Regions from separate parts of the Homo sapiens genome. Here all the other regions are linked to region 1. The links are contacts of gene promoters, found by promoter capture Hi-C in blood cells and fetal thymus (Javierre and others, 2016). All regions are on one chromosome and are shown on one strand. Each heading gives the region's core, a stretch centred on a gene start or on the middle of the fragment in contact. The rest is flanking DNA. Distances are from core to core; before and after follow the strand shown. Region 1 holds the start of COG2 (component of oligomeric golgi complex 2). Region 2 has its middle 3.0 kb from the start of FAM89A. Region 3 overlaps TTC13 (tetratricopeptide repeat domain 13).

Region 1 (2,523 bases), core at 11-2,510:
CTTATCCTGTTCATCTGTTCTGTAGATACTGGCAGGAAATAGGCTCTTCAACAGGGCCTGCTAGGTCCAGTGCTAGGGAGTAGAGCGTTTTGGATTCTACGCCTACATTTTTTTTTAAGTGACCAGTTTTCTAGTTGAGATACTTGAAATACAAAGTCTCATGGTGAGGTCTTACCCTCTGCTGTCCCATTCCTTTTTACAGGCCATCATGGCGTTAATCTTATCTCCAAGGAGAAAAATTGGGAAGAGAGGCCTAGATTCCTCAACAGAAGCGGGAAGGAAAGGTTTGCAGAATGAAGAGTGTGAAGTGAGGTTTGTGGTTTGAATCATCCGAATGTCAAGGAGAAAAGAAGAAAAATGAATCATCATCATTTGACCACGGTATTTACAGCTAGCGGAAGGGACAAGAGGAGAAAAAAGCAAGGGAGGAGATAAAGGAAGAACGTCTCAGAATAAAATTGGGGTGGGTGGGGGGAGGAGGAGGAAGACAGTCTAAGAAATTGGTTTGGTTGCACCAGTACTGGCCACAACACAAAAATTTGTCCATTCCTGGTTGAAATTAAAAATAAATGTGCATGCACATGTATTTGTCTGCTGTGTTTAATCAGATAGCGAGGCACTCCTTTAAGCACCTTGAAGACCCAAAGTTGCGCTCAGAGGCTGCCCACCTGGAACGGAGACCGAGGTTGAGCAGGGAGCTACTCAGAGGACCCAAAGCCGCCTAGCTGACCACCTTCTTCCCTATGAGTTCCCAGTAACGGAGCCCAGTGGAGGAGACGCTACACTTCTCTGTGGGGACAGAGGCTAAGGGCGGGGGTCTCCATAGAGGCGTTAGCGCCCACCAGCGGCAGTGACCGCGCACAGGGAGGTGAAGAATGCGACCACGGTGATACGTCCAACCTGGAAAACGGGCCTGAGAACCAAAGGGCCAACTTCTGGCCATGCATAACGAAGCAGAGCAGTCTCAGGGTAGAAGGCACTGGAAAAGCGTTGTAGGACAATTTTTCCCAGTAGAAACGGTGGGGGTGGGAGGGAGACCCGCTCACCCCTTTTGACCCACCCCTGCAGCTCAGCCACGCCTCCTAGGGAGGTGGGCAGCCTTGCAGGAGCCCGCGCGAGGCTGCAGTACCGCCCTCCGCCACATGAGGGCAGCACGGCCTACCCGTGCAGCAGCGGCGGCCCCCGCGCCCCTCTTGGCCAGAGCCAGGCGCAGGCCGGCTTGCGGTGCCGTCGTTCATTGGCCGCGGCGCGGGCGCTGCCATGTTGGCGGAAGCGGACCCCCCTGTGCCGTGGAAACTGGCGGTGGCCGCGGCCGCCGAGTCGGTCTGCGCAGCCTCCTGCGTTTTCTCGCTTGGATCTTGGCACTGAGAGGCGGTGGCCGGCGGGATGGAGAAAAGTAGGATGAACCTGCCCAAGGGGCCGGACACGCTCTGCTTCGACAAGGACGAGTTCATGAAGGTGCGCGCGGCGTCCGCTCCCCGGAGCCGGGCCATGAGGGTGCCTCTGCCCTGTGCCCTCTGTGGCGGTCTCTTCGGTCGGCTGCTCCTGCCTGCGCACGCTCAGTGTCAGGTCCTCCGCCGAGACCTCGCTGCACTTCGCAATGAGTCTTTTGGCGTCAGGTTTGGCGGGTGCAGCCTGGAGAAAGCACTTCTGTAAAATCGTGCGTGTTACATGGAAAGGCCTGAAAGTTCTGGGCAAGTGGTTTTGAGCTGCATGTCAAAGCCACTGTTACCCGTTCCTGTTACCATGCAGTGCAGTCAGATTGCCAGTCCCCTTGTCGGAAAGAAGCTTGTGGACCGGGGCCTTGGAGCTCATTAAGTGTGTGTTGAATAAATCTCCAAGCCCACGTACTTTCCTAGGGACTCGGGTCGGAAAGAAAAAGAACTTAATCTGAAGTTTTGCTTAACATTCAGCTAAAGCTTCCAGAATGGGATATTTAGAAGCTTAGAACATTCTTACCGACTATTGCAGTACGACAAAGCAAACCATTACTCTTTAAAGAAGTTGCTCTACTTTTTACGTGATGCATTTGAAGAAGTTGGTAGTTGTAGGTCATAAACTTAGAGAAAAGAAATATAAACTGAAAACACTTCACTGATGATAAAGTTCATCAGGCACAGCCTTGAAAATGGCCAGGCTTTGAGTGAGAGCTGGGAGGAGCTTTGCTCCTACTTGGTGTATCCCTCTGGGTCTGCACTTAAGCCATTCAAAAAATGTTTCTATTTAATTTCCTGAGGACTAGGATTTTTGACACCTTTTAGTAGCTGCTTTCAGTGTTAAAAAGCGAAAAGTTTTAGCTGGTTAGTAGACATCTACAATTTTGAGCAAGTGAGTTGAAATCTTACTCTGCCTTTCTTGGTGACATAATGTTTTCTAGATTAATTAGCCTATCTCTTTTTGATAATATTTGCATTCAGATTACATCTCCAAAGCTGTTTTTTTTTAAAGTAGATCTGTATCTTCTCCAGTGTGACCATATCATTTTTCGTATGTAGGACTTATCTATACCCAGGAATAATGTAC
Region 2 (2,523 bases), core at 13-2,512, 400 kb after region 1:
TTATTCATTCACTTATGTAAACGGTGGGTGTCTTCAGGAGAGTGACCAGTCTGCCTGTGTGGGAGTAAGGGAGAGGAAGGGGTGGGAAGCATTTTGACATTCGGTTCACACCTTAGCATGAATTTTTTTTTTTTTATGAGACAGTCTATCACTCAAGCTAGAGTGCAGTGGCGTGATCTCAGCTCACTGCAACCTCTGCCTCCTGGGTCAAGCAATTCTCCTGTCTCTGCCTCCCAAGTAGCTGGAATTACAGGCATGTGCCACGACGCCCGACTAATTTTTGTATTTTTAGTAGAAATGGGGTTTCACGATGTTGGCCAGGCTGGTCTCGAACTCCTGACCTCAGGTGATCCACCCACCTCGGCCTCCCAAAGTGCTGGGATTACAGGTGTGAGCCATCGCGCCCAGCCTGCATGAATTTCTTTAATTTCACTGGTTACAATGCAGTCTCACCTGTAGTACCTAGCAGAAATCACTCAAGGTAGGTGATAGGAGATTCAGCTATGTGATGGTGAAATAAGAAAAGAAATCACTTTGAAGTATCGGGGCACTGAAAGCATTTTAAAGCACATACTTCAGAGAATTACGGATTACAGAAGGAAAAGGAGGTTAGGGTCAGCTAGACAGCAGCATGAGGTCCGTGGTGTCAGGACTCGAGAAAAGAGGCACAACTTAGACAATGCCAACCTTACCAATTTTTTTTTTCTTTTTTGAGATGGAGTCTCACTCTGTCGCCCAAGCTGGAGTGCAGTGGCGCGATCTTGGCTCACTGCAACCTCCACCTCTCGGGTTCAAGCAATTCTCCGCCTCAGCCTCCCAAGTAGCTGGGATTACAGGCACCCGCCACCATACCCATCACCATCTTGGCCAGGCTGGTCTTGAACTCCTGACCTCACGATCTACCCACCTCAGCCTCCCAAAGTGCTGGGATTACAGGCATGAGCCACCACGCCAGGCCAACCTTAACATTTTAAAGGCAGGCTCTGCGTTCTGGCCTATACTCAGTGAGGTAAGAGTATTGAAATCAGTATCAACAAATAATATCCCAGGGTAAGGAGAAGTTTCTACAGAATTTCTGTGGTGCTGGTGAAGACATTATTTGTACAAGCCTGAAACTATTATATAACAAATATTTTGACATCCTTGGGGAATGTTAGTGTCTGTTTATTCAAATGCCAATATAAAGTACCTTTTAAAGTTCATGCTTATAATGAGAGAGAAGTAGTAAATAACTTCTGACAGTGTGTTTTTTTGCATTAAGCCACTGAAACATTACCTTAGTCCATTTAGGCTGCTATAACAAAATACCTGAGACTGGATAATGTGTAAAGAACAGAAATGTATTGCTCACAGTTTTGGAGGCTGGAAGTCCAAGATCAAGGCACCAGCTGACGTGTGTGCTGAGAGCTCATTCCTCATAGATTTCACCTTCTGGGTGTCCTCACATTGCAGAAGGGGCCAGGGAGCGCCCTCAAGCCTCTTTTACAAGGGCACTGATTCCATTTACAAGGGCTTCACCTTCATGACCTAGACACCTCCCAAAGATCTCACTTCAATACCACCACATGGGGGTTAGGTTTCAACATATGAATTTGGGGCTGGCAGGGGGCACATACATTCAGACCATAGCAAAACATCTGTATTCTGAGTTCAAATCAGAGTGAGTCTTCATCATCACCCATGCAGCTGAATTAGTCTTTTCTGTTTTGTTTTGTTGTTCACAGGCTCTTGGAAATCAGAAAACACAAACTTCTAATCCAGTGCTCTATTCATTAACCCACATCTTTTCTTAGACTTTGTCAATCAAGGTTAGGGACCTGGGCCTTGGAGCACAAGCCTCAGAGTCACCAGTATCCAGGCATTTACTTAGAGATTATTCTCATGTGCCTCCATCCTGACCTTCCATTAACCCAGCCACTAGGTTCCTCCCCACCTCTAATCTCTGCCCACTTGTTGTTTGCTTTTGGGAACTCTAAAGAGTCTTTTTGTGCGTTTTATTTATTTTTGTTTTTTTTTATCATTCTCAAGTTTAATAACTTAGGTTGTTAATAGACTAGAAAGAACCTGAAAAAGACACCAGAAGTCCAACTGAGCTTGCCTTTTCAAGCTGATGACTTTAAATGCCGCTAACTATAGAGAAGTTTATCTTGCCATTTTTCATTTGTTGCAGAACCTAAAACTAGATTACTTTGAAAGCAACTGTGCAATGAATTTGGGCTACATTTTAGCAAATGTGTTTATTTCAAGACATAATTTCTTATATTTCAATCATTTCTAAAACAAATTGTAAATTTTAAAGGTTATATAATGCCTCTTAAAGATTTTTGTATGCAACTATGTGTACATATAAATGGGAAACTTGGCATTTAATCATAGAGTCCTTTATATAGTTTTTAAATTGTTGCCTTGTCACTTCAACAATATTTTTTATTTGGCCAGAGACAAGGATGATACTTTCTTTGCTATAGCACAATGCTGGGCACCTAGTGATAGCAAATATATATATAAATGGACATACTGTTC
Region 3 (2,523 bases), core at 16-2,515, 330 kb after region 1:
CAGCACATGTGCAGTGTAAGTCCACTGCATGGTGCTGGACTCTAAATCAGACAAAACATTTCCCAAATGAAACTAGGGTTAGCATGGAATGAGACTATCGGCAATCTTAAAAACAGACAGCTATTGATTTCGGTTCTTTCTGATTACATCAGTTGTTCAGCTTATGAAAACGTATTGAGCTATCTACACTTAGGACATATGCACTCTCCTGTATATATGTTGTATTTTGATAAAAAAGTAAAACCAAAACATAAGAAAAGGAATATGCTGGAAAGCATTCACCCAAAGTATTAAAATTCTGCCGCTTTGATAAATTATTTATTCTATCTGCAAGATAAGATGAGCCCAAACAAAATGACCTCTTTAAAACAACTCATTGTGAAAGGGAGAAGGTTTAAAAGTCAGTCAAGTATATATTGAGTGCAGTGAAGCTAAACTGTCTGTACATTGAGTGGTGCACATTGAAGAGCCTTGACTTTCCTACAGTCATGCTCCAGGTAGGTTCTAAAACCCAAGTCACACCATTTTTGCCTCCACCCAGAGATTAAAAAATAATAATTAACCCTTATCACCTGAAGTTGAACAGGTTTAGCAGTATGTAGATCTTTTAAAAGGTAGATGTAATTCTTAATGACAACAGATATACGTGAAAAAGCGAATCATAGGCTGCCATCGTCATAGGGCTTATGCTATAAAATGCTACTTCTAAACCAGAGGATTTGCTGAAAGATGCTGTTCAGTGAGCAAAAGGGAAACACCCTCTGGCAATGCCACAGGGGCCAGGATGTGGCAAGATCACAATCTCTTCATCACTCTGTGCCTCAGTCTCTGAGCACAGCGACTTTGCACTGGCAAATTTACTCAGGAATGCCTTGAAAAACAAGATATGAAGAGGTCTGCCATGAAACTATGTATGATGACAAACACAGAAAATCAGGGCCAGGAGATGAAAGGATTGACCAGATACACTCACAGTAATGGTTACCACAATTGCTATGACTGAGCACAAAATGTGGTTCTTAACTTCCTCATAGAGCAAAAAAGGAAATAGCTCTCATAAGTTTCCTTCTATTGATTCTCTACCACCTCTAGGCATAGCAGTGATCTATGTGCTGTGAGCAAAAAGACTGACTTCATGTATTTAAATGGCCAATTCCTTAATTAAGAAAGCTACCATATACATGGACAATCTCAGTGTTACCAATTTTGTCAAAAACACAGAGCTAGGTTCATAGCTACTTCCTTATTTTTCTGGCAGTTCACAATTCTCAAATTGGACAAACAGATTCTAAATGCCTTTTCCCATAAAGAACTGTGGGAAAATAGAATAAATGCAATTCTGCTTTCATTGATTTCAACAAACTAATGAAAATTAAGACATCAAGTACAGGGCTGCATCACTCAAGAGCAGTGAAAAAAGGCTGAAGGCATTGGAAAAAAAGATTCACACAAACTCACTGTTCTTGTTACTACTACATTTTCAAGGCGAGAGGAGAAAACAAAAGTATTTTTAAAACAACTTCTAGAAATGCATATGCTTGAACCATAAAATATACCTTATACTGTCTGTAAAGAGTATAAAGATATAATTTAATACATGATTTGAAAGAGATGCAGTTTAGCTTTGGTAAGAAGAGCAGAGGGGCCGGGCGTGGTGGCTCACGCCTGTAATTCCAGCACTTTGGGACGCTGAGGTGGGCAGATCACGAGGTCAGGAGTTCGAGACCAGCCTGGCCAACATGGTGAAACCCCATCTCTACTAAAAATACAAAAAATTAGTCAGGCTTGGTGGCAGGCGCCTGTAATTCCAGCTACTTGGGAGGCTGAGGCAGGAGAATCACTTGAACCTGGGAGGCAGAGGTTGCAGTGAGCCGAGATCACGCCATTGCACTCCAGCCTGGGTGACAGGGCGATACTCCATCTCAAAAAAAAAAAAAAAGAAGAGCAGAGAACCTGAATTTTTAAATCAATGAACAAGTTACAAATTTCACAAGACCTTAATGTAGCAGATCTACAGAGTGTTGAATTAAGATATTTCTAAGATCTCTCCAAATCTCACTCTATCTAAGTCTCAGCTCAAATGTCTCCTTACCAGAAGCCATCCCGGGGCACCTCTTAAAGTAGCACCTACACACTGCTCTTTATCCTCTCACACTGCTTTATTTTCAAGGCATGTATTACTGGGCCCTACTATATAGAGTCATGCGCCACATAATGATTCGGCCAATGATGGACCACGTATGTGTGAGAATGGTCCCATCAGACGGTAATACCACATTTTCACTGTACATTTTCTGTATTTAGATACACAAACACTTGTCACTATGTTACAACTGCCTACAGTATTGAGTACAGTAACATGCTACAGGTCTGTAGCCTAGAAGCAATAGGCTATACCATACAACCAAGGTGTGTAATGGGCTATTCCATCTCGGTCTAAGTACACTCTTTGATGTTTGCACCATGATGAAATCGCCTAACGACACATTTCTCAAAACATACCCTGTTGTTAAATGGTATGTA

What was found. The method cuts DNA at HindIII sites, captures the fragments that hold promoters and counts their contacts. A CHiCAGO score of 5 or more calls a contact.
Region 2: a fragment that was not itself captured here is called in contact with the fragment with the promoter of COG2 in region 1 in 1 of 17 cell types (total CD8 T cells); the score reaches 5.2 in total CD8 T cells.
Region 3: a fragment that was not itself captured here is called in contact with the fragment with the promoter of COG2 in region 1 in 2 of 17 cell types (naive CD4 T cells and total CD8 T cells); the score reaches 7.0 in naive CD4 T cells.

What each region holds. Positions count from the first base shown.
Region 1 is chr1:230,641,221-230,643,743 of GRCh38, forward strand. It overlaps COG2 (component of oligomeric golgi complex 2), which reads left to right and starts at 1,261. Exons shown (of 18, transcript NM_007357.3): 1 at 1,261-1,458. The coding sequence starts at 1,387. RefSeq lists a silencer at 1,055-1,194 and an enhancer at 1,285-1,504. The HindIII fragment of the contact is 12,366 bases long and covers 1-1,786 here.
Region 2 is chr1:231,041,990-231,044,512 of GRCh38, forward strand. No RefSeq gene overlaps it. Among named protein-coding and RNA genes, the nearest start is that of FAM89A, 3.0 kb to the left of the region's middle. The HindIII fragment of the contact is 2,784 bases long and covers 1-2,523 here.
Region 3 is chr1:230,972,153-230,974,675 of GRCh38, forward strand. The region is part of intron 1 of TTC13 (tetratricopeptide repeat domain 13); the gene reads right to left. Among named protein-coding and RNA genes, the nearest start is that of TTC13, 5.4 kb to the right of the region's middle. RefSeq lists an enhancer at 709-948. The HindIII fragment of the contact is 2,997 bases long and covers 1-2,523 here.